Linked DNA regions of Homo sapiens: all the other regions are linked to region 1. The links are contacts of gene promoters, found by promoter capture Hi-C in blood cells and fetal thymus (Javierre and others, 2016). All regions are on one chromosome and are shown on one strand. Each heading gives the region's core, a stretch centred on a gene start or on the middle of the fragment in contact. The rest is flanking DNA. Distances are from core to core; before and after follow the strand shown.

Region 1 (6,208 bases), core at 2,070-4,569:
CACTTCCATCAAAAAGGGAGCGGTGGCCAGGTGTGGTGGCTCACACCTGTAATCTCAGTACTTTGGGAGGCCAAGGCAGGTAGATCACCTGAGGTCAGGAGTTCAAAACCAGCCTGGCCAACATGGCGAAACCCCGTCTCTACTGAAAATACAAAATTAGCCGGGCGTGGTGGTGCATGCCTGTAATCCCAGATACTCAGGAGGCTGAGGCAGGAGAATCACTTGAACCTGGCAGGCGGAGGTTGTAGTGAGCCGAGATCTCGCCACTGCACTCTAGCCTGGGCAACAAGAGCGAAACTCTGTCTCAAAAAAAAAAAGGAAGCGGCTCACTTTTTTTTTTTTTTAACAAAAGTGGATTTATTCATTTAAACCTATGTGATCACCAAGTTCACTAGAAACTGGCAGGATGAACCTGGAGCCTCACATCCAAGAGCCTCCGGTTTGGGTTTTTCTGGTACGGAGGCAGGGAACTGACTTAGATGACCTGGGCAGCCAGGCTGGTCTGGGCTTGGATGCCTTTCCACCTCTCCTTCCTCTCCTAGTCTATCCCCAGCTCCCTTCCAGGGGTCAGGACCCCAAACTCCTATTAGGCAAGTCTTTTCTTCCCTTAGCAACCCAGTTTCTTCAAACATGGGGAAAAAAGGTAGGAGGAGCTTCTTATCACAATATTTCTTTTTAATTTAGAAAGAGGAGGAGAAAGCTAGGCTCACACCTGTAATCTTAACACTTTGGGAGGTTGAGGCGGTGGATCACTTGAGGTCAGGAGTTCAAGATCAGCCTGGCCAACATGGCAAAACTCAAGTCTCTACTAAAAACACAAAAATTAGCTGGGCACGGTGGTGGGCGTGGGCGCCTTTAGTCCCAGCTACTCAGGAGGCTGAGGCAGGAGAATCGCTTGCAGCTGGGAGGTGGAGGTTGCAGTGAGCTGAGATCGCATCACTGCACTCCAGCCTGGGCGACAGAACGAGACTCTGTCTCAAAAAAAAAAAAAAAAAGAAAAAAGAAAGTAGGGGAGAGAAAAATGACAATAACTTATCACTTGGAAAAAGTTTTCCCACTAAAGTTCTCACCAACTATGTCCAAAGTCCCTCCTTGTTGGGACACTGTAAGCTGTCAATAAATATACCTTGGTCATGCCCCTACATTAGCGCGCACCAACTTACCCCATTTTAAGAGCCTGCGGTAGAGAGGTCTCAGAGTTGCTATAATGGGCCAGCTCCTGGTGAGGGGTATTTAGTTGTTTGCAATTTTCCCGAATGAACAGTTCTGCAAAGAACAATCTTCTATAAGCATTTATCTTTGTTGTACAGCTACTTCAAAAGACAGATTCCTAGAAGTGGAATTACTGTCTTAGAGAATCTACACATTTTAAATTCTGATACTTACTAGTTCAGAAACTTGACACGGTAATTCTCAAACTCTAATTGCACTTAGGCTTTATCTGTGAAGCTTGCTTACGTGCAAAATCTGACCGGCTACCAGCCTCCCTCCACCACTACCCCGTCCTCCAGGAGAGAGGAGGGGCTCCAGGTCTTTGTTATGCAGCTCTCAGGTGGAGGAGGAGGCAGCACTCCCCCGCTTCCATTTTCCCAACCACATCTAGCACCAGACTTGGGAAACACTCGTCTAAGGGGCTGCTGCAGGCACAATTTACGGTGCGGTCTCTTCCTCTAGCCCAGGCCCCCAGTGGCTTCCCCAGAAAGGGCAGAATGTGGCTCTTACGCATACAGGAGAAAAACGCCTAGTGCGGAGTTCAAGCTCAGCAGCCACTACCAGAGCCCCCTCTCCAGGCTCACCTGGTCGCACCCATTTCCCCCTGGGGCTCCCCTCTTCTGAAGGTCCCTGTCCCATACATTTCCTAGAGGCCAAGGCCCATTGGTTTTACATTTCTTACCTAAGGCAACCCAGACGTGGCTTTTTCTTTCACAGGGCCGTGGGGGGAGCACCACTTCCCCGGCCAAAAAAATTGTTTCTGACCCACACTCTGGGCCTTATTTTCCCTGTCTGTGAAATGGAGAGCAACAGGCAGTGCCACTGACATTTCACCCGCTGCCGTGAGGAGGTTTTTAACATTTGCAGGAAGTCTGGCTTCTATGGGGTGTCCAGGTGAAACCTTAACAATCTTTAATCAGCATTCTGATTGGCTTAAGGCTTGTTTGGAAAAAATTAAGAGTTTTGTTCCTAGAGTTCTCCATTGCTAAAGGGTAATTAAGTCCAAAAGCTGTTTTCAAAGCGATTTCCAAGCTCAAGGGCCCTAGATATCTGGACCTAGCCGTGTCCGGGTACAGGGCTGGGGGGCGTGGGGGGATGCCCTAAGAGGCTGGTTAACAGAAATATCACAGTATGTGGTACCCACAGCAGAGAGCAGGGAAGAATGTACTGACTGGGGTGGGGGAGGCCAAGGAAAACCTTCTGGAGTAGGGTGTAACTGGCAGAAGAGGAAAAAGAAACCAGACAGGAACTCCGGGAGCTCCTGGACTGATCGTTTAAGGCCGGGCACAAGGGGTAAGGGATCAGGCTTCACTATCGACCGACCTGGGCTGAATGATACCGGTTGACTGTGTGACAAAAGCAAATCAAGAACCTCTCTGCGGCTCATGAGTAAGCCAGAGACTTACATAGGACAACACATACCCTATCACCCGAGGATGAGACGGGATGACACACACGAAGTGCCCCGCACAGCGTCGTTGTAAAGCGTTGGCTGTTTTCACCTCTGGCCGCCCCCTGTGAGCCCGATCATGTGCTTTTTGGGCTTAGGTCGGAGGCGGCCTCCCAGATTCTACAGGCCATTGAGGTCGTAACAAGCGTCTCCATCAGAGCCTAGTCCTTAACTAGCTGCGGGTAAGTGCCCGGACTAAGTGGCCTCAGTTTCCCCTCGAAGCAACGGGACCAATCGCACCGCCGGCAGGACATCTTGTGCGGGGCGCGAAGTGACAAAAGTCAGGATTTGCAGAAGTTCCCACTCGGTAACGACCCCCACCCCGGCAAGGAGCACAGTAGGCGCTCCGGAAACGCCCTCCACGAGGAGGGCCGGGCCACTTCCTGCCCCCGAGCGGGCTCTCCCCGGCGGAGGCTCCCACCGCCGCTATGGGTAGGCCATGCAGCATTCCTGAGGGCGGGGTGGGCGCAGGAAGAAGGTGCCCGCGGCCCCGCCCCCTCCGGGCGCGCTGGGCGGGGCGAAGCCCCTCGGCGCCGACGGCCCGCCCCGCGGGGGGTGGGCGCAGCTCGTCGCGCTCCGCACAAAGTTTGTTTTCTCCCTCCGGGCGGGTGGGGGAGGGCGCAGAGGGCGCGGGGGGAGGAGAGGGGATCTGACGTCAGGCCGCGAGGTGCTTTCCAGCCGCGAGCTGTCAGGCCGAGTGTCAGGCCGGGCAGGTACGCGGCGCGCGCCCCCGGCGCCCCCCGCTCCCCGCCGGGACGCCCCGCGCCGAGCCGGAGGCCGCGTGGACCCGAAAGCCGCTGGGAAAAGTCAGTGCAGGGAGCAGCAGAGGGCCAGATGGGGGTGGGGGCGCGCGGACAACTTGGAAAGTTTCTTTTTCTCGGCCGGACGGGGAGGGGGCGTCGTCCTGGCGCGTGCGGTAGGGGGTGTGTGAGCTCGGGGGTGTTTGTGAGTCCCGACGGCCCCCGGGGGGTGTTTGTGAGTCCCGACGGCGCTGCGCTCCGGGGGCCGGTGGGGGACTGTTCCAGCCCCCGGGAGGAAGCCCGCTTGGGGCCCTGGTGGGGGGCCCAGCTTCATAGGATCCCACCCCAGGAGAGGGCCGATCCTGCACCGGACCTGAGTGAGCGCGCGGGGGGACGGATTTGTTTGGTTTCAAAAGTGCACGTTGCTAACCGCCAGCAGGGCCCCCCCGCCGCCGAGCCGGACAGGGGGCGGCCGAGAGTGACAGCTGGGGGTGGGGGCCGCGGGAAGGGCCCGGAGCGGGGGGGCCCTGGGGAGCCCGCGCGAGTTCCCCTTTCCTTTGGAACAAAGGAAAGTCTGTCTCCGAGGCATCTGTCACTCCCAGGCTGGCCAAGGAAGCGGGGCGCGTGGGGCCGGCGCCCCGGAGAAAGTTTGTTCGCGCCGGGACCCTCGGGCAGGCCGAAGGTGATCCAAGCCTCCCGCGGGAGAAGCGCGTAGTCTCCGGGGCAGGGGGCGGCCAACATGGAGTCTGGGCGCAGGGCTGGGGGGGGGGGGGCGGCGCGGAGGTGGGAGCCCAGCCCCCTCCCCTCCCTTCCCCTCCCCTCCCCCTCCGGGCCCAGTTCGGAGCACAAAGCCGAGCGCGCACGCTCCGCCGTCCCCGCGCCCCGAAGAGTCGGCCAGCCCCGAACTGCCGGAGTAGGGGTGGGAACCAAACTTTTTCCTGCCCCGGGACAGACACGTGAGTTTTCTTTCTTCCAGAGCCCCCGTCCCACCGGGATGGCGGGCCCGCGCGGGAGCTGGTGCGCGGAGTCGGCCCGGGGTGTGGGGACTGTGGGGTGCAAGCGCCCCGAGCGCCGGACGATTCCTCGCCGACCCAGGAGCCATGTGCTCCGACTCGGTCTGGGCCGCGGGGGAGGTTGCGCGCTTTGTCTGAACTGCTGGGAATGCGGGCGTGAGTGCGCGGCCCGGGGGAGTGTCGGGACCAGCTAGGGGAGTTGTCAGAAAGTTCGTGCGGGAGTGGCTGCAGGTGGCGTCGTGGGAGTCTGTAGGAGGGTGTACGGGATGTTGTGTCGAGGGGTTGCTGCCACAGGTCACTGAGGGTAGAACTGATTGTTAGTGTGATGACGCCTGGAGTTTTCCCTGTCGGAGAGATCGGGGGTGGCCGGGTCGGTTGGAGTTCGTGGGTGGGCGGGTACAGAAGTTGGGCTAGTTGTGTGGGTCACAGTTGTTCGTGCTAGGCCTGGGGTCTGTAAGCTGTGCGTGTGCGTGCTGTATGCGTCGGTGAAAACCCTAGGGTTTGTAAGGCTTGAGCGATGGGTCCGGGCCAGTTATCCTAGCGCTGTTGGTTAATTGCCTGGCGTGAGTGTGTCTGGGTGCGGTGTGGGGTGCATATGTGGGAAGCCTCCCAGACTACAGATGGCCCTGTGTGGCGGAACACCGAGGTGGAGAAGTTTGTGTAGACTGAGGGGTCATTCCCCAGGGCCCACCCGGGGAACCCTGCAGACAGACTTGGCTGGCAGCCAGGGTGGAATTTGTACAGATAACCTTGAGTACTTCTCACAGCCGGCCAGGGCTGCATCACTGAGCCCAGATCCCAGCTGCCCTGGCCACCTAGAAATGGCTGTCTGACCTCAGAAAGCAGCCTGCAGTGGTGCTCTCTGAGGAGTGGCACGTCTAACCAGTGCCTGTCTCACCTCCAGGTGGCCTGACTGAAAGGGTAGACCCTTCCCTCGAAAGCCTGGCCTAGCCAGCCCAGAGATCTGGGCTCGGGTCCAAGAAGAGGAAACAAAACCTGGGAGATGCCAGAGTCTGTTGGCCGGCCTGCTGGGGAGCTGTTAAAAGGCTGAGAAGGGAGGAGCCTTGAGATCCTGGCATCAGCCTGGCCTAGAACTTTTGCTTTTAAAATGAAAATCTGGCTGGGCGGGGTGGCTCACACCTGTAATCCCAGATCTTTGGGAGGCCGAGGCGGGCAGATCACCTGAGGTCAGGAGTTCAAGACTAGCCTGGCCAACATGGCAAAACCCTGTCTCTACTAAAAAAAAAAAAATAGCTAGATGTGGTGGCACACACCTGTAATCCCAGCTGTTCGGGAGGCTGAGGCAGGAGAATTGCTTGAACCTGGGAGATGGAGATTGCAGTGAGCCAAGATTGCGCCACTGCACTCCAGCCTAGGCTACAGAGCGAGACTCCATCTCAAAAAAAAAAAAAGAAAGAAAGAAAGAAAGAAAATCTTTGTTGCACGTGTGAAACAGAACTTTGTCCAGGGACTGAGCAGCTGAGTTGGGTTATCTAGGGAAAATCCTTCCTTCATTTGACAGGTGAAGAGGGGACTCAAGCCCAGAAAGGGGAGGATCCTTGTCCAAGTTACAGTGCCAAGTGGAGGGTGGGCCTTGCTCATTCACCTGGATTTTGAGTGGTTGAGTCTAGGACCAGGCTAAAGGGGCCTGACAAAGGAGAATGTCCAAGAAGCAACCAGTAGAGAGATGACTCACCTCTCTCACTGCAAGGTACACAGTAGGTGCTCCTTAAATATTACTTGGACTGCTGCAGGATCATGGTGATCTGTAGTTTCCAGAGTTCTCACTGGCC
Region 2 (6,208 bases), core at 2,928-5,427, 950 kb after region 1:
CCTTGATGATTAGAGCTCCAGCTGTCTTAAGTTGTTTGTCAAGGGATCGGTTACTCAAATCTCCTATGGAGGGAAACAATTTCAGGCAAGAAGCCATGGGAGCTGAGAAACGCAAATGTCTCATCTCTGAAAACTTTCAGACTCCCTCCTGTTCACCGCCTGTCCTGCCCCCTGCTCCCCCTCCCCCATCCCCACCATCTGCTCTCCAGAAAGCAGATCAAATTTTCAGGCTAAGGTACTCTGGCGCCAAAGACTCAGCCCCTCCATGCTTCCCCCTGCCCCCCACCAACTCCGAAATCCAACACCACGACCCAAATGGACTGCAGCCACATAAAACCACAAAGTAAAGTTTATAAAGCTTTATTAAACATTTCAAACAGCTGTGCAACGAACACACCAAATAAAAGCTCTAGAATAGCAGTCCAGACGTTTCACAAGTATGGCCTCACAGTCCCATTCCCTAGATGGACTGCCTCCAGTTCTGTTCTCTGCCTGGCCCATCTCTCTTTCCCCTCAGGCAAGAGAGAGATGGATGGATCAGACTGAAAGGACAGGCATGCTGATCTCCAGCAGGCAGGGGCCAGGAGAAAGTCTCGTTTGCCAACACTTGTTACTGAAGCGCAGAAAAAGCAGCAAGTGACAGTCACAAAGTCTTCCTGGGTATTCTTCATAATGTACAGTCTATATGCGCAGGAACGAAGAAGCTCCTGGCGGGAGGATGATGGCCACTGCTCCCCTCTGTCTTGTCTGAACCACCTCGGAGTCCAGTGTGCTGGTCACTCTGCAATCCCCATGCTAAATAAAAACTGTAGCGGCACCTACCATATATAGCTAGCTATTGCTAAACCTCAAAATCAGACCACGTTCGATAAAGCTTCTTTAAAAGGAATATACACATGTATTTGTACACACACACACACAGGGCACACCAAAAAATATCCAAACATCTATCAAGGGGATCAAGGCCGTTACGAAACACACAGGTACTCTCCCACTCACTCAGCTGGGGACTGCTAGAACTACGTGAACACACCATACTTCAATGCTGCAGAGCATGCACGGGAGACACAATGAGGCCCCCTCCTTGGGACAGTTGAGAAAGGCAGGAGGAAGGGCAAAGGAAGTGAGGCTGGGCGGGAAAGCTTGAGCCCAGACACCCAGGTGAAAGAGCAACATCTATCTGTTGCTTCCTTTCTTAAAAATGAAGTGGAGAAAATACTGAAGATTTGTGGACAACTAACAGTCAAGACATGTTTCTGTCTAGCCTGCTGAACAAGGAAAGAAGGATGAAAAAGCGAGGCTCTCGGGCGTCAGCAATCTCTTCAAATTCGAGATAAGTGCAAAAATGAGCCCTGTCTTGGACAGGTACTCCCCAAAAAAGGAAAAGGGTAGAAGAGAAATAAAGGGAAACCAGAAGAGGGACTGAGGAGTCAGTAACATTCTGGGAAGGAAGGAGACCCTGACAAGGAGGGGTCACAGAGGTGACAATGAGACTGGCATTTTATCTGCCCCAGGTCACATTGGGGCAGCTGACCAGGATGGACCCAGACTCCTCACAGTAATGAGGCGAGAGGGGTGGTCATGCGGCCAGCCAGGACCTAGATGGGGACAGAACACACACAACCACAAGACCACCCACGACTATAGGACTTTACAATAAAAGCACCGGTCAGTGCCATTATTCACATTGTAAGGATAAAACATCACAGGCCAAAAAGGCGCCGTCAGGAATGTGACACCCGCGAGGCTGCGGGATTTGAAACTCCAATGCTTTATGACCTATGTCAATGCCTCCCCTCCCGTCTTCTGCTTCCTTGGAAAGCTAACAGGGCAGGCCGTTAGGTGCCCACAACGCCGGGATCATGCGCCGATTCTGGAAGCGGGGAATCGGAGCAGTGGTACAGGAAACAGTTTCCCCAGCAGCTATAGCAGATAAGGAACAGGGCTGCCAGGAAAACCAAGGCACAAATTGTGCAAGGCTTCCGTTCCAGGAGGAAGCTGAGCAGGTAGAAGCCCATGAACATGGAGTGGCTGAACCACAGGGCGGGGTTGAGGGGCTTGGGGATGAGGAGGACGGGCAGCAGCCACTGGAGGCAATACATGATCTCTGCCGGGCAGGGCCTTCACCAAGGCTGCCGGGCACCGCTGCAGGAACCGACCTAATGGGAGCCAGCGGGCGCAGGCGGCTGCCCTCCGCTTTCTTCAACCCTCACTCTCCAGGAGCTGAGCCGCTGTGCTCTCTGGCTGTCAGCCCGGGATCACCAAGGCAGCAGGGATCCTGAAGAGAAAAGTCAACACAACAGACAAACAGACAAAGAACAGACAGACAGACAAAAAAAAAAAAAAAAAAAGAAAAAAAAAAAAAAAACAGGAACAGAATGTATACTTATTTGGGAAAATGGATCATGGTTAACAACAGCAAATGTGAAATGCCCTTTCCTCCCTGCCCACCCGTGAAAGTTCTACTCCTCTCCAAGTCACTAATTCGGGAAGCTTCCTGGGATGTCTCCCCGGGGCTTCTCCTGGGGGATCGGGGAGAGGGCTCTTTGGCACGGTTTCACACAGTGGGCTGGCTTTGCCTGGGCCCTGCCCAGCAGAGATCATGTATCGCCTCCTGGGGCTGCAGCCCGTCCTCAAGGGGCCCAGACCTCACAATACCGCCCAGTGGTTGCCAAAGGACGACCAAGGGCTCCCTGCTGTGCCCCCACGTGGTAAGGACAGGGTTCTGTATCTAGCATCTCTCACAGCCATAGGTGCTCAGGCACTAAGTGCAGAGTTAAAGCTGTTAGCGGGGCACTGCCGGCCACCAGACCACAGGCAAAGGATCCTGAGGCAGCTACAGCCTCGAAATATTTTAAGATGGCAGCCTAGGCTAAGCTTGCCTTTTTCAAACAGCCCAGCGTCACTTTGCCAGAATCTGCCAACTTCTCCGAAAGTCAATGTAGAAAAAAAGTCACTATGCTACTTTGTCCAAACTGAACTCGTTTGGATCATTACACCTCCATCTGCTGCTGGCACTGTATAGAACCTGACCTCTGGGAGCTTTTAATGAAAATTAATTTTCTATCCACATAGGGGCAAATGCCAGTTGGTCCCTGGGCCAGGCAGCTTGCTGGAAAGAGGTGCTTTCGGCTGGCTACCGGTGCGCGGGGACCACACTCACAAACCGCATTCCGGTCTTCCCGCCCGAAAATCCGCGCTGTGCGAGGGACCCACAAGACTGGCGGTCTAAAAGGGACCCGCCTCACTTGGAAACGGGGCTGCGGTAGCCACAACCCTCCGGTAGCGGTAGCGTAACCCCGTTCGGTGATCCAGCCGCACAGCGCAACGGGTACAAAGAACCCCACTGGCTAAGGCCGACCTACCAGGGCTTGGGGGAGGGGAGCGGAAGACTGAGGTCGAAACGACCTGTCCAGCAGAAAACTATCCCCAAGCATATTCCAACCACTTCTCCGTAGAGCTCATTCCTTCCGTGCATACGAAGGGCGCCAATCCTTCCTGTATCCCTCCTACAGATACCGGGTGACTACTGCTTTTGCGCCCAAAGCGCAGTGCTCTGGCTCAGCTCCCTACAGTAGCGACCTCCACCGCAGATTCTCATCTCCTCGCTACCGTAAGAGAGATGTAAAGAATCAGACGGGTTACGCGCTCAGGCACCCTCATGAAGCAGAGGACCTGGGCTTAAAACTCATTCAGTATCAGGAAAAGAGCGCCGAGCACGGGCCTATTATGCCAAAGCTTCTGAAAGGGGCACCACGTTTTTTGCTCTATGGGGCAGATGACCCCTCCCTAATTTCGGTTTTCCATCCATCCCCAAGGTAGGCTTTGGAGTGGCACCGGAGACTGAGCTCAAATTTGCAGGCCAGGGACTGGGGAGAAGGGCGCCACACTAAGAGACCTGCACCCCCATTCTCGCCCTGTACTCTACCCAGAGTCGTGGTACCCCTCCATTTTAAAGCAAAATCCAAAAGCAAGCACGGCGGAATCTTCTGGAAGGGGGCTAAGATGGAACTCAGGAGGCGGGGGTCGGTATGGAAAGAGCAGATGGATTATTTTTTTCCTCTCCTGGCGAATGAGGAGCGCCCCCAGCCACCCCTCCTCATAAACACCCCCCAAGGCGCGCATGCGCACTTAGGTGGCGGGCGGGTACTTAAGGCGCGGCCACCGCGGCTGCGGCAGTGCGCCCAACAGCGGACTCCGAGACCAGCGGATCTCGGCAAACCCTCTTTCTCGACCACCCACCTACCATTCTTGGAACCATGGCGGCAGTGGCGGCGGCCTCGGCTGAACTGCTCATCATCGGCTGGTACATCTTCCGCGTGCTGCTGCAGGTAAGTCTGACGGGGTTTCGGGTGGGAGAGGGTTCCCAACTCGCGCCCCTAGAACCCGCAAGACTGCGTCGCGATTGCCGCTTCCCGGACCCGTCCTATTCCGATTGCCGCGATCCTTGCCTGCCCAAGTGCCGCTGCCGGCACCGCGCGCCCCCTGCCCATTCCCTGCGCCGTCCTCCTCGCGCTGACCCTCCCTAGTGCGCCCGCGCCTGCCAGGGAACAAAGACTCGGGGCGCGGCGGGCGACCGCTGCGGACGATCACCCAGGCATTTAGCGACCTACGCGGTAAGAAAAACCCGCTACACCCGGACTCGACCCCAGGAGGGAGGCGGGGCACTACTGTGTTGAAAGACTTTACAGCTCGCAGAGTGAAAATTTTCCACCTTAAAAAATTGCGCATTGCGGAGAAATTTTATTTAAAAAAACATATAGCGCTTGCGGGGGTGGAACAAAAAATAAGTTAGAAAAAGGCACTTCTCAGAAAAAATAAAAATTACTTCGCAAAAAAAAAAAACCCTACAACGAATTAGAGAAAAAGTAGTTCACAGGAAAACAGAAAAACGCGCATTGCAGGAAAAATAAATCGGAGAAAAGCACTTGGCAGAAAAAAATGCATTAGATTAAAAACGCACTGCAGAAAAAAATTAGACAAGGGAGCTAACGGAAAAAAATGGATCGGGCAAAAACGCTTTAAAGAAAAAAATTAGAGGAAAAAGCCCCTCGAGAGAAAAATAGAAGGGGAAAAAAAGCACTTCCAAAAAAGGACAATTGCTTTACAAAAAAAAAAATAATAATAAAAAAAATAAAAAAGAGGCAAAAGCGCTTGGTGTAAAAAGAGATAAATCAGAAGAAAGCGCTTTGCCCATAAAATCATTTACCCTAAAAGCTCCCTTTGCAGGAAGAATTCCCTGCTAAAGGAATCCTTTGCCAAAGGAATCGCATATTTCCTTCAAGGTGTTCCTGGAATGCTGCATTTACTGGGTAGGATTCGCTTTTCGAAATCCTCCAGGGACACAGCCCATTGCGAGAAGTGAGGTATACCTAAGTTGTGGGTCCAATCAGCTTGCCGCCATGCAGCTCTCAGCACAGTTGGAAAAGCTCCAGCTGCCCTGACTCGTGGACAAGCTGCGCCCGCGCCCGCCTCTCCAGCCTACGCTGGATGGGCGGGCGGGGCAGGGGGTGGGGCGGGGGTGGGCACGGCAGCACCACAGACATGCTGTGGGTGCTCTCCACTAAGGGTGGGTCCTGGGTTTCTCGTCGCAGGTGTTCAGGTACTCCCTGCAGAAGCTGGCATACACGGTGTCGCGGACCGGGCGGCAGGTGTTGGGGGAGCGCAGGCAGCGAGCCCCCAACTGAGGCCCCAGCTCCCAGCCCTGGGCGGCCGTATCATCAGGTGCTCCTGTGCATCTCGGCCAGCACGGGAGCCAGTGCCGCGCAGGAATGTGGGGTCCCCTGTGTTCCCTCGCCAGAGGAGCACTTGGCAAGGTCAGTGAGGGGCCAGTAGACCCCCGGAGAAGCAGTACCGACAATGACGAAGATACCAGATCCCTTCCCAACCCCTTTGCACCGGTCCCACTAAGGGGCAGGGTCGAGAGAGGAGGGGGGATAGGGGGAGCAGACCCCTGAGATCTGGGCATAGGCACCGCATTCTGATCTGGACAAAGTCGGGACAGCACCATCCCAGCCCCGAAGCCAGGGCCATGCCAGCAGGCCCCACCATGGAAATCAAAACACCGCACCAGCCAGCAGAATGGACATTCTGACATCGCCAGCCGACGCCCTGAATCTTGGTGCAGCACCAACCGCGTGCCTGTGTGGCGGGACTGGAGGGCACAGTTGAGGAAGGAGGGTGGTTAAGAAATACAGTGGGGCCCTCT
Region 3 (6,208 bases), core at 2,708-5,207, 800 kb before region 1:
TCCTTGTAATCATGCAAAATGCAGGAAGTAATTTGGAATTCCTAGTTAATTCTCCTCCCCCTCACTTGGAGAGCAGTGAAGGCCTGGGGAGTTCGGGAACTTTCCGTGGAGCCCAGACTGGAGAGACGTCCGGCCAGGGCCAAGACAACCTGCTTCCCTTGGGCCTCTGGTGCCTTGTTGAGGTCTTGGACCTTTCAGATGCTACTGTGACTGTGGTTTCCGGCTTCCTGAGTTCTCACACTCAGCTTGGTGCTGCAGAGATCACACCCCAGTTCCTGCTTTTGGGGACTGACATGCTCAAGTTTGGTGATACTCAGTACATGGGGTCTGTGAGATCTAGAGGGCTTACTTTTCTGTTTTAGTTTCCCTCTTTTCCCTTAACAGACTCACTGTAAGTGCTTTAGGGTTGCATAAGGATAGAGTATAGAGGTTTGCTGGGTAGACATTGAGAAAGATCAGTTTCCTAATTGAATATTTTATCTCATGTTGGATCTTTAATTCTGCTTCTCTTTAGCTAGGAATATTTTGAATATGCTGAATCTAGTAAAAAAGAAATTAGAAATGAAGTTGTATAGAACTTTGTAGTTCAGTACATTTTCTCACATATTATTGAACTTAAACGTGACAATTCTGCGTTGGTAGATATATATTATCCCATTGAGTAAAAAAAGTGAATATTGAAGAAAAGCAATGCCTACAGAGAGTGACAACTCTTCCATGCAGGTAGATGCTTTTTGTGCTATCCTATACTTTGTATGGATGCACACAGGGTTTCATTGTGGAGCTCTCAGCTTATGGGCTGGGACTACAGTTTTGAAATACAGTATTAGTAAGATGCTGGGGAGGATCTTAAGGCAGAAGGTAGATGTTACTTCTGGTCTAAAGTCAGTGGACTTTAGACCAAAATCTTGTAAACTGGAGCTCTCTGGCTAGCATTCCATTAATATTCAGTTCAGAAGAAGCTGGTAAGTCAAATTTCTGCAAGTTTTTACATCAGAAAGAGCTTAGCTCACAAGGTACTTTTTTCTCATCTGTATTCAGTTATTTTTCCCTGATCAGTGTCAGTCTCCTTCCAACCCTCACTTCCCATCTTGGGGAGTACCCTTAGGGGCAGGTCATTCCTCTCTTCTTTCCCTGGCAGGCTGGACTCATCCATGTGACCTGAGATTGGCCAATCGACAGTGGCTGCTGGCCAAGACCTTGCCTCTTGAGTGAGTGACTCAAAGACAAAGGGATACTAAGATTGAATCACAGCAGTGGTGCGCAGTGTTGCTGGGGGCAGCAGCTGTTGTTGCTCTTTCTTGGTGGAGCTGTCCTTGTGCCTGTTTGTTTTCCAAGCCTGCACTCCTGTTGTAGCTCAGGGGCCCTTGTAACATATTTCTCTTTTGCTTGCCATGATTACTTCACCAGTCTGTGAGCTCCTCGAGAGCAGGGCCTAAGTCTCATTGTGCTCTGAGTGTTTGGTGCCCATCTTGAATTTGACTCTCGGTAAATGCAGGTTGAATAAGTAAAGAAACATGCTATATTTATACGGGGCTACAGAGTCTGGAGTTCTTGGCATTATTGTGGTTGGGGGGCAAAAAGTTCTTTGTGTGCTACCATAGCCACTGACATCTGAGCAATTTCATATTAATAAACATAAACCCAGAGGATCTTGGGAAGGCCCTTCCTATATGTGAGCACTTACTTGACTGAGTGGCACTGATTCTCAAATTGCTGATTTTTTAAAAAGTATGAAATGTATCATGAATTTGCATGCTTATCCTTATGCAGGGGTCATGTGAATCTTTTCTGTATTGTTACAATTTTATTTTATTTTATTATTATTTTTTGAGATGGAATCTTGCTCTATCACCCAGGCTAGAGTGCAGTGGTGCTATCTCGGCTCACTGCAACCTCTGCCTCCAGGGTTCAAGTCATTCTCCTGCCTCAGCCTCTCAAGTAGCTGGGACTACAGGCATGCACCACCACACCTGGCTAATTTTTGCATTTTTAGTAGAGAGAGGGTTTCACCATGTTGGCCAGGCTGGTCTCGAACTCCTCACCTCAGGTAATCTGCCCGTCTTGGCCTCCCAAAGTGCTGGGATTACATGCGTGAGCCACCGCGCCCAGCCATGTTACAATTTTAATAGAATACATGTACTGCCCAAGCAAGTGTAGCTGAAGCTTTTGTCCCTGGTTCCACAGTGTCTCTACCTAAGGGCTGCTCTTTGCCCTGACTACCTCAACTGAGGCAATACCCTCCTTAGTTTCCAGCCCTGGTTTAAAAAGCACCCCTCAGGCTGGATTTGCTGGCTGAGGCCTGTAATTCCAGCATTTCTGGAGGCTGAGGCAGGAGGATCACTTGAGCCAAGGAGTTTGAGACCAGCCTGGTCAACAAAGTGAGACCCTGTCTCTAAAAAAAAAAAAAAAAAAACTCGGCCGGGCACGGTGGCTCACGCTTGTAATCGCAGTATTTTAGGAGGCCGAGGCGCGCGGATCATGAGGTCAGGAGTTCAAGACCAGCCTGGCCAAGATGGTGAAAACCCGTCTCTACTAAAAAAAATATAAAAAATTAGCTGGGCGTGGCGGCGTGCGCCTGTAATCCCAGCTACTTGGGAGGCTGAGGCAAAGAATTGCTTGAACCCGGGAGGCAGAGGTTGCAGTGAGCCAAGATCGCACCACTGCACTCCCGTCTGGGCTACAGAGCGAGACTCTATCTCAAAAAAAAAAAAAAAAAGTGGCCAAGTACGGTGTTAATTCCAGCACTCTGGGAGGCTGAGGTGGGTGGACTGCTTGAGCCCAGGAATTCAAGACCAGCCTGGGCAACATCGTGAAACTGCGTCTCTACAAAAAAATGCAAAAATTAGCCAGGTGCACACCTGTGGTTCCAGCTATCTGGGAGACTGAGGTGGGAGAATTGCTTGGGCCTAGGAGGTGGAGGTTATGAGGAGCCGAGACTGCGCCACTGCACTCCAGCCTGGGTGACACAGTGAGACCGTGTCTCAAAAAAAAAAAAAAATTAGCTAGGCATGGTGGCATGGGCCTGCAGTCCCAGCTACTCAGAAGGTTGAGCTGGGACCACAGGTGCGCACGTTCACGCCTGGCTAATTGTTGTATTTCTTGGAGAGACGGGGGTCTAGCTATGTTGCCCAGGCTGGTCTCGAACTCCTGAGCTCAAGTGATCTACCCACCTCAGCCTCTCATAGTGTTGGGATTACAGGCGTGAGCCACTGCTCCTGGTCTCATATTCTTTTGGGGTGGCTTCAACTCCGACCTTCGTCCCCAGAGAAAATACAGCTCCTTATCCTTAGCAGCAATTGGAAACCTTTCTAGGAGTTAATGATAAAGTGGGGGAGAAATGAGTGCAAAGGCTCTGAGATGAGAAGAACCTGGATTGTTAGCGGAGTTGAAGGACACTGAGAATGTGGGGGAGCTGGATTCGTGAGGATAAGAAAGCAGCAGGTCAGGTCCAGACTTTGAAGAGCCTGGTAGATAGTCTAGGTGAAGAGTTAGATCTTAATCCGGAGTAGGGAGGGAAACGAGCTTTGAGCAGGGGATGGCGTTTTGAAAAGACCTCTCTGCCGGTGTACGAAGAATGGATTAGAACGGCGAAGAGTAATAGGGTGGAAACCATCTTCATCTTGGAGAGAGATGGTGGTCGCTTCGATGGAGAAATGGGAAGCTTTGAGACGCATTTAGGTGGCAAAATTAACGGGTGATGGATAGCGTCCATTCCCCGGCTTCGGTGATCTCAGTGATTACGAGTGAGTGGGGACTTCGTGTTCCTGCTAGGGCGCGGGCCTGTTTCCCGCGCGTCAGGGTAGTGGGCGTGGCCTGCGCAGGCCGTTGCCACAGTGATCGGGCAGACGGGGCAGGGGGCGGGGCAGCTGGGACCTTACGTCACTCGGTGGTGGCGATGATGCGTGTGTGTGGGGGGCGGGGCATACGCTGGGCGCGTCCCGGGGGTCACGTGGTGCAGAGCACGCAGAGTCCTTCTGTCGGTTGGTCCTGGAGCGGCGCAGCCGGAGTGGGGCCGTGAGGTGAGCTCGCGGCCAGGCGAAGCCGGCCGGCCGGGCCGGGTTGGGCCGGGCCCGCGCTGCGCGCGCGCCGTGCGGGCGGGGACGGCGACGGACGCCACCGCTGCTTCGGTCCCCTGCCCGGCCCCGCTCCCCGCCTGGCCCCGCTCGCCCAGCCTGGAGGGAGGCCCTGGGACTGCTGCTGAGAGCGTGGCGGGCGTGCGAGCGGTGCCCAATCCCCGGGGCTACCCGCAAGAGTGGCGGCGGCTGCCGCCAATCAGCGCCGCCCGAGGGGGCTGGGCCGTGGGGTGCGGGCCCGGGGCGCGGAGCGGGCCGTGTTGGGGGTGCGGGTAAGCCCTAGGGCCCGAGCCTGAGCTGTGTGGGCACCTAGAGCCTCATCAGCAGCCTCTGCTATTGCCTTGCGCTTTGGGAATATGTTTTTTAAAATTGGCTTTTTTTATCCTATTCTGGGGAGCACATTCCTTTCTCAAGACCCCAAATATGGGAGTGTCCCTTTTCTCTATAGTTTTGAAAACTGGGCGGCACACCCCCTTTCTTAAGCTCTAGCTCTGGAATTTTATCTAAATTTCTAAAAGCCCTCCCCCCCCCAAATTTAGGGCGTACCCTCTTCCGTCAGCCCCCAAAGTGGGAGCACATTCCTTTTTTCGGGCCTCCAATTTGATTCTGCATTTCCGTTCCAATTTAGAGGTTCACCCTGTTATCGGGTCCTCAGATCTGGGGTCCATTAGCTAAAGTTTTGGGATACTTTCTTGTATCCCCTCTACTCCAAGGAAGAATTCCCCTTTTCCAGGTCCCAAATCTGACAGCATGCCTTCTGGAATTTCTTACATTTAGGGGCCACTTCCTTTCCTCAGCCCTTCAAACCTGAGGTTGGGCCGAAAACAATGTCCAAATTTTGAAGTTTATGGGTACTTATTTCCAGTTTCACAAATAAGGGAATTCACTGCCTTCTCCCGAGACTGTATTATTGGGGTTACACACTTTTCACGTGTTCCCCAAATCAAACTACCTTATTTCCTGAAGGAGACTCATTTTCATATCTGGGAGTATATTTGTTTCTTGTGCCCCCCAAATGTACGAGGTGAACCCCTTTTAGTTATACAACTCTCAGAGTGCAGCCACTTTCCAGATGCTTCTTAAATTTGGGGGGCACACCTTTTTGTGAGTCCTCTCATTTCCAGGTGGCGAGTGGTCTGTGGTTTTGAGCATGCCTTCCTACCCTGTTTAGCTTTTCTGTCATCCAAGACATTTTCATTCCTCAGTTTCCTTCCCTTTTTGGAGCCACACTCCCCTTGAGGTGCTTTCCCCAGTCTGGTCAGTGCACCCATTTCCTCTTCCTCTGGCGAGTGCGTATCTTTGTTCAGCACGGCACTTTTCTCTGTGCTTCTGCGGGCTTTTCTTCTGAGCACACTTCCCAGAGTCACACCTCCTGAATTCTCCTCTCCTCCCAGGGAAGGATTCCTCTCCTAAAGGGCTACCAGCACATTGTTTTTGATAGGCCTATCTTTTATCTTTCCGCTAGCAGGATCTCTTCTCTCTTGGCTTGCCCAATCCCCAAACATTTTTCTGGTTTCTGTCTTTCTTTGGAATTGTTCTGTTTACCTAGTGGCTATAAAGATTTTCCTTGTGCTGGAGGTGGCCTCAAGTCTAGGACTGCCTGGGCCCCCAGCGCTGGATTCAAAGTGGAAACCATTTCTTTGGTTAATCACAGGACTCTGAATCCTCCTGGTGGTTTACTTCTAGAAGACCTAAGATTCTGTTTAGGTGCATACTGTTTTCTCCTTTGCTTTATCTCCTTGTGCTGGAAAACAAAAACAAACAAAACTCTCAGATTTTTCCAGCACTGCTTCTAGCCCATAAACTTCTTCCCTATATTGGCTTTCTTACTATCTTTTATGAAGAAAAGATGTCGTTTGGAGGAATCCCTTGGATACTCTTTTTGTTCTTGTCCCTGGGGTGTCGGTGGGGAAATGGATATTTTTCTCTCCCAATCATCCTCTTGTCAATCTTCTTTTTTTTTTTTTGAGACAGAGTCTCGCTCTGTCGCCCAGGCTGGAGTGCAGTGGCGCGATCTCGGCTCAGTGCAAGCTCCGCCTCCCGGGTTCACGACATTCTCCTGCCTCAGCCTCCCGAGCAGCTGGGACTACAGGCACCCACCACACCGCGCCCGTCTAATTTTTTTGTTTTTA
Region 4 (6,208 bases), core at 2,876-5,375, 610 kb before region 1:
ACTGCAGCCTCTGCCTCCTGGGTTCAAGTGATTCACCTGCCTCAGCCTCCCGAGTAGCTGGGACTACAGGCGCCTGCCACCACGCCCGGCTATTTTTTTTTTTTGTATTTTTAGTAGAGATGGGGTTTCACCATGTTAGCCAGGATGGTCTCGATCTCCTGACCTCGTGATCCACCCACCTCAGCCTCCCAAAGTGCTGGGATTATAGGCGTGAGCCACTGCACCCAACCACCTCTTCATATATCTTTTTTTTTTAAGAGACGGAGTCTCACTCTGTTGCCAGGCTGGAGTGCAGTGCCATGATCTCGACTCACTGCAACCTCTGCCTCCCAGGTTCAAACAATTCTCCTGCCTCAGCCTCCCAAGTAGCTGGGACTACAGGTTCCCGCTATAAAGCCCAGCTAATTTTTGTATTTTTAGTAGAGACAGGGTTTCATCATGTTGGCCAGGATGATCTCAATCTCTTGACCTCGTGATCTGTCCACCTTGGTCTCCCAAAGTGCTGGGATTACATACGTGAGCCACCATGCCCGGCCTCATATATCTTTCATAGCTTTATTATAGCAAGACTTTCTCTGAGGATTTTACTTCCCCACCATATTGTGAACTCCTGGTAAGCAGGGACCACATCTTATTCACCTTCATATGCTTTGTAAGCATTTGTTGTATAGCTTTTATAATCAGCAAAACAATAAGAATCTTCTCTCTCCCTCTCTCTCTTTTTTTTTTTTTTTTTGAGACGGAGTCTCATTCTGTCACCTAGGCTTGAGTGGTGCAATCTTGGCTCACTGCAACCTGCGCCTCCCAGGCTCAGATGATGCTCCCGCCTCAGCCTCCCGAGTAGCTGGGATTACAGGTGCATGCCACCACACTGGGCTAGTTTTTGTATTTTTAGTAGATACTGGGTTTCACCATGTTGGACGAGCTGGCCTTGAGCTCCTGACCTCAGGTGATCCACCCGCATCAGCCTCCCAAAGTGTTGGGATTGCAGGCATGAGCCACCGCGCTTGGCCGAATCTTCTCATAAATTGTTTGTGGAATTGAATCGAACTCCATTTTATACATTATGAAAATGAGGCCCCAAGTAGTTAAGTGACTTACCTAAGATCACATAGGAATAGGACCAGTGCTCTTTTTGGCATTCTACCCTGTAATAGTTACAGTTATAAAATCAGGAACTGTAAGAGAAATGAAACTTTCTTAGTTTCTAGAACTGACTTAAATGTGTGACTCTGAATCCCCAGCCCACCTCCTTGCAGATAATTGAATTTAGGATGTCTTCAGGTAAATTGAGATCCAATCCAGTAATTTTGAGTGGATATAATTTCAGGCTTATTGATTCATCTTGGGCCCATTCATAGCTCTCCAAACTTCCTGCTTCTTCTTCCCCAAAGCTGATCTAATTCCTAGAGAAATTGTACAACCACAGCTGGCAAGAGGTGAGGTTGGCAGTAAACATTTTTGGGGTCTCATCAGGTCGTACTGGCATCATCTGATGCCCCTTGTGAGCCTGGATACTTTCCTTGTCACTCTTGGATCCTCAGGCAGTTCAGAGGACTGACGGGACACCCTTCCTGCCTATAGCCATCTCCTACCATCTCTCTTGCTTTCTCCAGGCCCAGTTGTTTCTTTCAGAAGCCCCCTACACTTTTGAAGGGGATCCTCTTATATTTCCTTCCTTAAGACTAGGTTTGCAGTGGGGGAGGCAAAAACTCCATACCTCATCTCTCTGTCTCTCTTTCTAAAACTTTCTCTTCTTTCTCTCTCTGAATTCTTTACATCTTTTCTCATGGTATGGGGGAAAAACCAGTTTTGTCCCTTCTCACCTCTGTGTGTGATTACTGTCCCACCCCAAGAGTGGCCTTTGTCTTTCTTCTCAGCTGTCCAGCCATCTTTGCTGAACTCAGTGTCCTTCTGTCTACCTATCAGTTGGAGGAGAGTTAACAGATATACCCCACGGGATAGGAATGGCAGAGCAGGTGATGCTTGAAATCACAGTTTTCTACTGAGGATCCTGGTGCAAGAGCAAATTGAGATACTCAATTGTCATCTTTAATAGAAAAAAGCACTTTAGAGCCTATATTTTTCTATATCTTTAGAAGGACTCCAGAGATTTGAGTTCTAGTCACCAAGTTCCATTCAATATTTGACACTTGATTTGGGTGAGGTCTTCTGTTTTGCTGAGTTTTTTTTTTATTGTCCTGATTTAACCAGACTTATGGGACAGTACTATGCACCCACGTTCCAGGGCCTCCAAGTTCTAAGTCTCAGAGTGGTCCCTGGGCTAAGGTGCTGGATGAACCTACTCCCAGCCTAGAAGCCTCCCGCTGTAACAAAGTACACCCATTTTTCTATGAGATAGAGAATGAGTTATCTTTTTAAATCATCTTTTTCTTCTTTCTCTTTTGTGTTTTTCTTCTGTTCCCCACTTCCTACTTAGCTGATTAGAAATGCAGTTATAACCTTTTGCTTTCCCTTCACCAGACACTCCTAGAGCAAGTGTATCTGTGTGCTTACTTAAAAGCTCCAGAGTAGAAACCTCTCCCACCAGATTGCCTTGAGAGACAATAGTCAATTTACAACCAAAAGTATGCCTGCCAGGAAACTCTGCCCCACCTGGAGAGTATCTCGAGACAAGGCCACTTTACAACCTAGTTCTGCCCAAGATGGTGGCAGCTCGACCAGGCGGTAGATAAGGCACCAAAGTGAGTCATGGAGACTCCCACCTGCTCATTCCCTCCTCTGCATGCCATTTATGCCAATTCCCCCTCCCGCTTTTTTTTTTTTTTTTTTTTTTTTTTTTGAGACAGAGTCTTGCTCTGTCGTTCAGGCTGGAGTGCAGTGGCACAATCTTGGCTGACTGCAACCTCTGCCTCCCGGGTTCAAGTGATCCTCCCACCTCAGCCTCCCGAGTAGCTGGGATTATAGGTGCCCACCACCTCACCCGGCTAATTTTTTTGTATTTTTAGTAGGGATGGGGTTTCACCACATTGGCCAGGCTGGACCAGACCTTGCTTCTGTTAATTGGATGCTACAAATGGAGAGCAAGTGTACCTGACATTTAGCTACACTGCTTTCTTAAAAAAAAAAAAAAAAAAAAGGCCCTGGCCAGGAGTGGTGGTTTATGCCTGTAATCCCGGCACTTTGGGAGGCTGAGGTGGGTGGATCACTTGAGGTCAGGAGCTTGAGACCAGCCTGGGCAACGTGGTGAAAGCCTGTCTTTACTAAAAATACAAAAATCAGCCGGGCATGGTGGCACACGCCTGTAATCCTAGCTACTTGGGCGGCTGAGGCAGGAGAATCACTTGAATTTGGGAGGCAGAGGTTGCAGTGAGCTGAGATTGGGCCACTGCACTCCATCCTGGGAACAAAGTGAGACAGTGTCTCAAAAAACAAAAAAGCCCTATCTTTGCAGGACAGGTGAGCCCCCAAATTGAGACTTAGCTTAGGAGAGTTCTTGGCTTTGCCCAAGGAAGGAATTCAAGGGTGAGCCAGTGGTGTTAGACAGCAATCTTTTATTGAATAGTGCTTCTCCTTGTGGGGCAGGGCTAACTCATGGGCAATGAATCCGGAGTCGATACCCAGTGTATGAGATGTTGGCAACTGTATTTATGCTCATCTCTAATCCCTTCTCAGCCTTTTGGCTGAGATCAAGTGTAGTATACGCATTCCTACCCACTTTCAATCACATGCAAATTAAGGGGCAGGCTAATGCAAATTAAGGGGCAGGTTAATGCAAATTAAGGAGTGGGTTTTTAGAGTTTTCTAGGAAAGAGGTAGCAACTTCCTGGTCATTGCCAAGACATTTGTACACTGTCATGGCACTGGTAGGAGTGTCTTATGTTAATGAGGGATGGGGACAGCTAGGGGGTCCTAGATCCTGTTTTGGTCAGCAGGGTTGTGCCATTCTCCTGTCTCACCAGGACTCTGGCAGCCATTTAGCTACTTTGAGCCCCAGTCTCCTATGTATGGAGTTGAGTAAAAGTTTGGGTGGTTGTGAGGATTAGCTGAGATAATGCCTGTGAGTATCCCATAAATGTTAGACTCCCACATTCCAATCCCTGTGTCCCCTGCCTCCAGAATCTTTCATTGTGACCTTAGGAGATTCTGAGAATGATTTTTCTCAGAGCAGGGCTTCCAGTAGCTGATGGTATGGTAGGAGGAGTGGAGTGGAGCTCTTGCCTTGTTACTGAGGAAATCTATTTGTTTCTAGTATTACTGGATTTTTGGGGAAAAATTTGTAGTCCTCCCCTTGAAAGGCAAAGGGGCTAGTTGTGCCATTTGCCTGCACAGGAACCATGAGGAGACATATGGTAACTTATGCCTGGCAGCTCCTGAAGAAGGAACTGGTGAGGAGGGGCAAGGGCCCTGGGAGGGAAGAGCAGAAGACTGAACAGACAGGTGTTTTGAGGAAGGTCGATGCAGGTGTAGGAGGGGTCTTGGATGAATGGTGGCCATCCTGTACCTTTTGGAGTCACAGCATGGCACAAAGGAGGGACCCCTGCCCTGTAGCCTACCAGCCCCCCACACTGGGCAAGCCATAAGCCACACTCAGAGCCACTGAGTCCTGTTCTGTACCCACTCTTCCTGCTATTATGAGATCCAGAGAGAACGAGGGAGGATAGAGTCAGGGTAGCAACATTGAGTCATAGGTTAAGCTTGTGAACTCTGGAGCCAGACTACCTAGGTTTAAATCCCTATCACCTATTAGTCATGTGACCCCAGGCAAGTTGCTTGGTTTGCTGTGCCTTTATTTTCTCCTCTGTAAAGTGAGATGATAATACTAGTACCTACTGCATAAATTTACTGATTAAATGATTTACATATCAGAATAGTGCTTTGGATAATGCCTGACAATAGTAAATTGTACTCAGTAAGTATTAATTTTATTCATAAAGTACCTTTCCCCATATTTCCATAGATATCTAATTTTTAAGAAATAGAACATTACAGGTGTAGGGAAAGCTCTTTACCATCCCATGCCCCTTTATTTCTCTTTAATAGTAACCACTTTCCTGAAGTTGGTGTCACCCTTCCTGTTTATATTTTTATATATTATCACATGTGTATGTATCCATAAACAATATATAGTATGTGGCACACTGTTTAAAAATGATACCATAAATAGCATCATAGTTCTTTTTTCCCACTCAAAATCATTTCAGCTTTATCCACATTGACACACACAGACTTAGTGCTGTGTTCAATCCTGTGACTGAACCATAATGTATTGATCCCTTCGATCCCTACTAATGAACATTTGTTTTCAGCCATTCACTGTTACACACAATGTTGCCATGATTACCCTCATGGCTATCCCCTTGTACATGTATGTTTCTCTGAAGAGGACATATAAAGTACATACAATTCTTCCATTGTGAAGTACACACATCCTCAACTTTATATAATGTTGCCAAATTGCTCTTCAACATGGTTGTACCATGTTTCCCAGTTCCCAGTGATAAGTGCAAAATAGTATCATGTTATTACTTTAATTTCCATTTCCATTATTTCTAGCAATGTTAAAAATGGTTTCACAATTTGGCTGGGGCATGAAGGCTCATGCCTGTAATCCCAGCACTTTGGGAGGCTGAGGTGGAAGGATCACTTGAAGCCAGAGTTGGAAACCAGCCTGGGCAACAAAGTGAAACCCCCTCTTTACAAACAATGTAAATATAAATACAAATGAATAAAAACAATATTTTCACAATTTATAGGTAATTTGAACTTTCCCTTTGAATTACCTTTGCTCATTTTGCTATTGGGTTATTTGTATTTTTCTTTTGATTTGTAGGATTACAAAAAATAAATTTTGGATCGTAATCCTTTGTTGATTATATGCATAGTAAGTATATTTTTCCAGTCTGTAGTTCGTTGTCTCACTTTGTTTATGATACACTTTAAAAAGAACATTCTCTTTTTTCCTTTGTTTGTTTTTATTTATTTTTTTGAGACAGAGTCTCACTCTGTTGCCCAGGCTGGAGTGCAGTGGCGCAATTTCAGCTCACTGCAACCTCCACCTCCCAGGTTCAAGTGCTCCTGGTGCCTCAGCCTCCTGAGTAGCTGGGATTACAGGCGCCCACCACCACGCCCGGCTAATTTTTGTTTTTTTTAGTGCAGATGGGATTTCACCATGTTGGCCAGACTAGTCTCAAACTCCTGGTCTCAAGTGATCAGCCCACCTTGGCCTCCCAAAGTGCTAGGATTG
Region 5 (6,208 bases), core at 1,772-4,271, 610 kb after region 1:
AGAATGGTTGGGTTGTGTGGTAGATTGTGTAACTGACTTCTTAAGATGCTGCCTGGCCACGTGTTGTGTCTCACGCCTGTATTCCCATTGCCTTTGGGAGGCTAAGGCGAAAGGATTGCCTGATACCAAGAGTTTGAGACAAGCCTGGGTAACATAGCAAAATCCGATCTCTACAAAAAATTAGCTGGGGGTGGTGGCATGTGCCTGTAGTCCCAGTTACTCAGGAAGCCAAGGCAAGAGGGTCCTAGAGTCCAGGAGGTGAAGGCGGCAGTGAGCTATGATTCCATCACTGTATTCCAGCCTGAGCGACAGATGGAGACCTTGCCTCGTAAAAAACAACCACCGCCAGTGGCTCACGCCTGTAATCCCAGCACTTTGGGAGGCTGAGGTGAGTGGATCACTTGAGGTCAGGAGTTTGAGACCAGCCTGGCCAACATGGTGAAACCCCGTCTCTACTAAAAATACAAAAAAATTCAGCCAGGCAGTGTGGCGCGCGCCTGTAATCCCAGCTACTCGGGAGGCTGAGACACGAGAATCGCTTGAACCCAGGAGATGGAAGTTGCAGTGAACTGAGATTGTGCCATTGCACTCCAGCCTGGGTGACAGAGGGAGACTTTGTCTCAAAACAAACAAACAAACAACGAAGAAGCTGTCAATCTGTTTCCAAAATGGTCGTACCACTTTACATTTCCATCAGCAGGATATGAGAGATCCTGTTGCTCCACATCCTTGCCAACATTTGCTATTGTTGGTCTTTTTCTTTTTCATTAGTCAGGTGTGGTGGCTCCCATCTGTGGTCCACAGCTAGTCACTAGGACCACAGATGCGAGCCACCACACCTGGCTAATCAAAATTTTTTTTTTGTAGAGGCAGGTCTTGCTGTGTTGCCCAGGTGGGTCTCGAATTCCTGGACTCAAGTGATCCTCCTACCTCAGCCTCCCAAAAGCTCTGGGATTACAGACTGAGCCACCATTCCTGGCTGCATATGCTAAGTCTGTGGTGTAAATACTCCCATCATGGCCAAAATCAAGCTACCAATACTACCTTGGGAAGAGATGTTCAATGGCATACTGTCATATATTTCCACCACACAGTTACAACAGATATAAGCAACCACAAAAGCACACAAAACGTAAAATGTAGTGAAATAATTAGAAAATAATGAGTTTTGTTTTCAATATACTTTATTTCATCCTAAATTGATATAATTTTCTAAATGGCTGTATTTAACCAATTTGCAAAATTACTGCAAATTTAACAATGGACTCTCAAGATAGTATGAGACAGCTCCAGCACACCACTGGTTGGTTGTCTTATTCTTGAGCTGGGAGAATTCTTTATATATTCTACATCAGCACTGCCCAATGGAACTTTCTGCAATAATGAAGATGTCCTATAATTTTGAGTGGTCCAATCTGATATCCACTAGTTATCTGTGGCTACTGAGCACTTGAAATGTGGCTAGTACAAATGAGAGACTGAATTTTAAATTTTACTTAATTTTAATCCATTTAAATTCAAATTTAAATATCCACATAAGGCTAGTGGCTATCATAACAGACACAGAAAGAACTGACTCTCTCCCATGCGGGATAACATTTGGGACAATAATAACGTTAATAAGAGTTATATTGTGCATACTTTATATGTTCATAAAACTGTAGTTAAAAGCACAGATTCTGGAGTCAGCTGCCTAGGTTCAAATCTGTTTCCTTCTCTTTAAAATGGGATTAGCCTGTAATCTCAGCACTTTGGGAGGCTAAGGCCGAAGGATCCTTTGAGCCCGAGTTCCAGACCAGCCTGGGCAACAAAGCGAGACGCGGTATCTACCAAAAATAATTTTAAAGATTAGCTGGGCGTGGTGTCGCAAGGCAGCAGTCCCAGCTACTCCGGAGGCTGAGGCGGGAGGGAAGATTGCTTGAGCCCAGGATGTCGAGGCTGCAGTAAGCTGTGATCGCACCACTGCACTCCAGCCTGGGCGACAGAGCAAGATCCCGTATCAATAAAAAAGGAAAGAAAAGAAATAATGCTTGTAGAGCGTTCGGCACAGTGTCGGGTTATACTGTAAACATTCAGTAGTTGGCGCTAGTTATTAGAGCGGTGTTCCTGGATGAGCCACCTCCATGTTGAGCCTGTAAAACTGGCCTAATATGTTCTCTATGAGTCACTGCATTGCTCTGCAAATCAGATAAAACGTCACTCGTAGGTCAGTTATTAACAACCCCACTGATAATCTTTGGAAAAAACTGACATAATTTTCTTTTTCTTTTTTTTTTGGTGAGACGGAGATTTACTCGTTGCCCAGGCTGGAGTGCAATGGCGCGATCTTGGCTCACCGCATCCTCCGCCTCCCAGGTCCAAGCGATTCTCCTGCCTCAGGCTCCCGAGTAGCTGGGATTACAGGCATGTGTGACCACGCCCGGCTAATTTTGTATTTTTAGTAGAGACGGGGTTTCACCGTGTTGCCCAGGCTGATCTCGAACTCCTCACCTCAGGTAATCCGCCCGCCTCGGCCTCCCAAAGTTCTGGGATTACAGGCGTGAGCCACTGCGCCCGGCCAGAAACTGCCACAATTTTCTAAAGAGGAAAAAAAAATCCCTTCTAAGCTATCCCCTCCCGACGAGACCCTTCCTGTTCCTTTAAAATGGGCCGGGCAGCAGAAAGACGAGTGAGTGACAGCAGACAGGCCAATCAGAAGCGGCCCCGTCTCGGGCCCACCCCGAGGCCTGGCCCAACCGCGTCCCGGTAGCTCCCGGAATAGGAGCGTTGCGAGACGGTCGGTTCCAAGTGGGCCTGGGCGCGGGGGAGAGGCGGGTCTGTCCTCGGGAACTGCAAGGCCCTGTGAGCGGGAGGACTGGGATCCCGGCCGCGGCTGCTGGAAGCGTCGAAGCTCAGCGGGGCCGCGGACACTGACCTGTGCTTAGAACTCATCCTGGCCCGCAGAGCCTGCCGCGAGTCCCTGGCGTCCCCTGTGGCGGGCTCTTGGAGCCACTTTCCCGAGCGGAAGTCAGCCCGCGGCTCGGACTCCGGCGGGACCTGCTCGGAGGAATGGCGCCGCCGGGTGAGGAGTTGCGCGTGGCTTTGGGGAGAGGGCTGTCGCCCGCGGGAGGTTACTAGTCGCCGCTCGAGAGCCGGCCAGGCGGGATCCCCTTCCCCTGCGGGACAGGGGCATGGGCACAAGCTCTGGCTGGGGCGCTCTCGGATCGAGGGTCCGAAGGAGGGCTGCGAGCTGGTGGGAGTGCCCGCGACCTGGCGGGGTTGGTGCCTGGGGGAGGGGTGCAGCGCGGAGCTACGGGTCGCCCCGAGGCTCAGCCGTGGGGACCGCGGACGCGCTTAGCCTAGGTCTGGCCTCATTCATTTCACTCGCGCGGGCTTCTGGGCCAGGCGGCCTAAGGTTCTGGTCCCGGCGCTGCCCCTTACTCCGTGTGAGGTTTTGGGCAGATTGTCCTTCTTTGTGCTGTAGTTTCCCATTCAGTGAAAGGGGCAAAGAAAACCCTCACTTCTCTCTGGGAGCCTGGAGCATAAGTTCTCAAGTGACACTCTAGGTGCAAACTTGCAGTCGGCCACGTATTCATTGTGTAACCCAAAGCAGGTTACTTAACCCCTCTACACCTCAGTTTCTCATCTGTAAAATAAGTTAGTCAAATTAGTCACGTTATCTGCCTCGTTGAGTTGCTTTATTAAGTGAAATAATCTTCGTGCTTAGTTTAGAACAGTGCATGGCCCTAGGTAAGAACTAAGTTAACTGCATTGGAAGTTACTGAGTAGACGCTGTGCAGGGTGGAATTTCATGTAGCCTCATCGTAACTTTGGAAGCATGTACTCTTGTTACTACCATTTGACAGATGAGAAGTTGGAATCCCACGGAAGGGAACTTACTTGCCCAGGGTGACACATGAATGAGTCAGTGGCTCACCGTTTCATTATTTGAGAAGTTCAGGATAGTAAAGTGGTTAAAAGCAGACTTTGGATTCAAATTGCCTGAAGTTTGATTTTCAGTGATGTGTCCTAGGGCAGGTAACTACTTCTGAGCCTTACTTTCCTGGTCTGTGAAATGCAGAAAATAGCCACCTTGCTTAGATGTTGTGAGGATTTAATGATTTGGTGTGTGCAAAGCACAGCATAGCGTGGGCATACCTAACATATTAAGTGCTCAACTTTTAGTCAGAAAAGTTACTGCTCTCGTTAACATGGAGTGAGAAGATTAGGATTCTGACACAGGTGCTGTTTTAGGGGAATTTACGGTCTAGGTGGGAAAATGCTAGTCGCAGCCATTCACTAGATCTTCATATATTGGGTACCCGCCTGTGCACAAGGCATTGGGGATTCAGCATTAGTATCTTGACTCCGCTCTCTCTTAGGTCTTTCTGTCCATTAGCAGTTTCTGATAGGCTTTGACTTTGAATTCTAGCCAGACTAACTCTCATCACTTCTCATCATGTTCACTGCTGTTGCCCTGGTTTGGGCCACCATCATCTTCTGGCTTGGATTATGGCGGTAGTCTCCCAACTGGTGTCCCCTGCTCTGTCCTTGCACCTGCATGGTCTGTTCTCCACACAGTATTGTTTATTCTCAACACAGTAATACCATTAGAGTGTAAGTCAAATCACTCCTCTGCTTAGAACTTTCCAGTGGTCTCCAGCCGGGTGCGGTAGCTCACGCCTGTAATCCCAGCACTTTGGGAGGCTGAGGCGGGCGGATCACGAGGTCAAGAGATCAAGACCATCCTGGCCAACATGGTGAAACCCCGTCTCTACTAAAAAGACAAAAATTAGCTGGGCATGGTGGCACGTGCCTGTAGTCCTAGCTACTTGGGAGGCTGAGGCAGGAGAATCGCTTGAACCCGGGAGGCGGAGGCTGCAGTGAGCCGAGATCGCGCCACTGCACTCCAGCCTGGCAACAGAGCGAGACTCTGTCTAAAAAAAAAAAAAAGAACTTTCCAGTGGCTTCCACTACGGTGGTATACAAGGCCCTCTGGATTTGTCCTCTGCTACCTCTGTTACCTCATCTACTTCTTACCCTTTGCTTATTCCACTCAAGCTGTACTGTCCTTGCTGATCTCAAAAAACACTGTATGTGTACATACTCCTGATTCAGAATGTTTGCATTTGGTTTTTCTTTTCTTTTTTTTTTTTTTTTTTGAGACAGAGCCCCAGGCTGGAGTGCAGTGGCACGATCTCAGCTCACTGCCCACTCTGCTTCCCAGATCAAGTGATTCTCGTGCTTCAGCCTCCCTAGTAGCTGGGATTACAGGCCAAGTCACCATGTGCGGCTCATGTTTTGTATTTTTAGTAGACATGGGGTTTCACCATGTTGGCCAGGTTTGTCTTGAACTCCCGACCTCAGGTGATCCCCCTGCCTTGGCCTCCCAAAGTGCTGGGGTTAGAGGTGTGAGCCACTGCGCCTGGCCATATTGGGTTTTTCTTCTTAGCATAGTTTCCCACCAGATATCTTTATGACTTGCTTCTTCTTCAGATCTGTACTCAATATGTTTATTTCTTAGTCCTTCATAGACTACCGTATTTAAAATGCAGCCCTTCCCAAATATCTCTTCTGTACTTTATTTTTTTCCATAGCACTTACTTTGTAATGTGATAAATAATGTTATTTCATGTGATGTCTTTTGTCACTAGAATAGAAGCTCTTTGAGGGTGGGAGTTTTGTTTCTTTTGTTTCCTGCTGTATTTTTAACACCTAAAGTAGTGTGTGGCACATAGTAGCTCAGTATACATTTGATGAATACACCACGTGATAGATTTTTTCTTTTTTTAATTTAATTTTATTTATTTATTTTTATTTTTTTGAGATGGAGTCTCACTCTGTCACCCAGGCTGGAGTGCAGTGGTGCGATCTCGGCTCACTGCAACTTCCGCCTCCTGGGTTTAAGTGATTCTCCTGCCTCAGCCTCCCAAGTAGTTTGGATTACAGGCACCCACCATCACACCTGGCTAATTTTTGTCTTTTTAGTAGAGACAGGGTTTCACCATGTTGGCCAGGCTGGTCTTGAACTCCTGACTTCAAGTGATCCGCCCACCTCGGCCTCCCAAAGTGCTGGGATTACAGGCGTGAGCTACTGTGCCCAGCTGTCTTTTATTTTTTTGAGACAGGGTCTCTCTTTCTCACCCAGGGTGGAGTGCCATGGTGTGATCTCAGCTCACTGCAGTCTCAACCTCCTGGGCTCAAGTGATCCTCCTACCTCCGCCTCCCG

What was found. The method cuts DNA at HindIII sites, captures the fragments that hold promoters and counts their contacts. A CHiCAGO score of 5 or more calls a contact.
Region 2: the fragment with the promoter of NNAT here is called in contact with the fragment with the promoter of TGIF2 in region 1 in 1 of 17 cell types (neutrophils); the score reaches 5.8 in neutrophils.
Region 3: the fragment with the promoter of PHF20 here is called in contact with the fragment with the promoter of TGIF2 in region 1 in 2 of 17 cell types (M2 macrophages and non-activated CD4 T cells); the score reaches 5.9 in M2 macrophages.
Region 4: a contact is called between the fragment with the promoter of CNBD2 here and the fragment with the promoter of TGIF2 in region 1, in 5 of 17 cell types (fetal thymus, total CD4 T cells, monocytes and 2 more). The highest score is 6.6, in fetal thymus.
Region 5: a contact is called between the fragment with the promoter of RPN2 here and the fragment with the promoter of TGIF2 in region 1, in 2 of 17 cell types (monocytes and non-activated CD4 T cells). The highest score is 7.6, in monocytes.

Annotation. Positions count from the first base shown.
Region 1 is chr20:36,570,278-36,576,485 of GRCh38, forward strand. It overlaps TGIF2 (TGFB induced factor homeobox 2), which reads left to right and starts at 3,320. Exons shown (of 3, transcript NM_021809.7): 1 at 3,320-3,468. It overlaps TGIF2-RAB5IF (TGIF2-RAB5IF readthrough), which reads left to right and starts at 4,238. Exons shown (of 5, transcript NM_001199535.2): 1 at 4,238-4,358. DLGAP4-AS1 (DLGAP4 antisense RNA 1) reads right to left here and starts at 2,998. Exons shown (of 5, transcript NR_109939.1): 1 at 2,635-2,998; 2 at 1,164-1,266. RefSeq lists enhancers at 1,266-1,818, 2,437-2,496 and silencers at 2,997-3,316, 3,347-3,436, 3,507-3,676. The HindIII fragment of the contact is 13,842 bases long and covers 1,448-6,208 here.
Region 2 is chr20:37,517,073-37,523,280 of GRCh38, forward strand. NNAT (neuronatin) reads left to right here and starts at 4,178. Exons shown (of 3, transcript NM_005386.4): 1 at 4,178-4,331; 2 at 5,286-5,366; 3 at 5,595-6,208. The coding sequence starts at 4,260. The coding sequence ends at 5,687. BLCAP (BLCAP apoptosis inducing factor) reads right to left here. Exons shown (of 2, transcript NM_006698.4): 2 at 345-2,278. The coding sequence starts at 2,102. The coding sequence ends at 1,839. RefSeq lists enhancers at 1,523-2,386, 2,387-3,250. The HindIII fragment of the contact is 15,256 bases long and covers 3,737-6,208 here.
Region 3 is chr20:35,768,058-35,774,265 of GRCh38, forward strand. It overlaps PHF20 (PHD finger protein 20), which reads left to right and starts at 3,958. Exons shown (of 18, transcript NM_016436.5): 1 at 3,958-4,022. It also overlaps the pseudogene LOC124904972. RefSeq lists silencers at 4,026-4,405, 5,410-5,704. The HindIII fragment of the contact is 4,645 bases long and covers 3,663-6,208 here.
Region 4 is chr20:35,964,465-35,970,672 of GRCh38, forward strand. It overlaps CNBD2 (cyclic nucleotide binding domain containing 2), which reads left to right and starts at 4,126. Exons shown (of 12, transcript NM_001365709.1): 1 at 4,126-4,349. The coding sequence starts at 4,299. It also overlaps the pseudogene LOC124904982. The HindIII fragment of the contact is 7,355 bases long and covers 1-4,656 here.
Region 5 is chr20:37,176,309-37,182,516 of GRCh38, forward strand. It overlaps RPN2 (ribophorin II), which reads left to right and starts at 3,022. Exons shown (of 17, transcript NM_002951.5): 1 at 3,022-3,061. The coding sequence starts at 3,049. It overlaps MROH8 (maestro heat like repeat family member 8), which reads right to left and starts at 3,240. Exons shown (of 25, transcript NM_152503.8): 1 at 3,081-3,240; 2 at 2,915-3,079. The coding sequence starts at 3,172. RefSeq lists enhancers at 2,580-3,139, 2,648-2,727, 3,078-3,127, 3,140-3,697 and a silencer at 3,248-3,297. The HindIII fragment of the contact is 7,782 bases long and covers 1-6,208 here.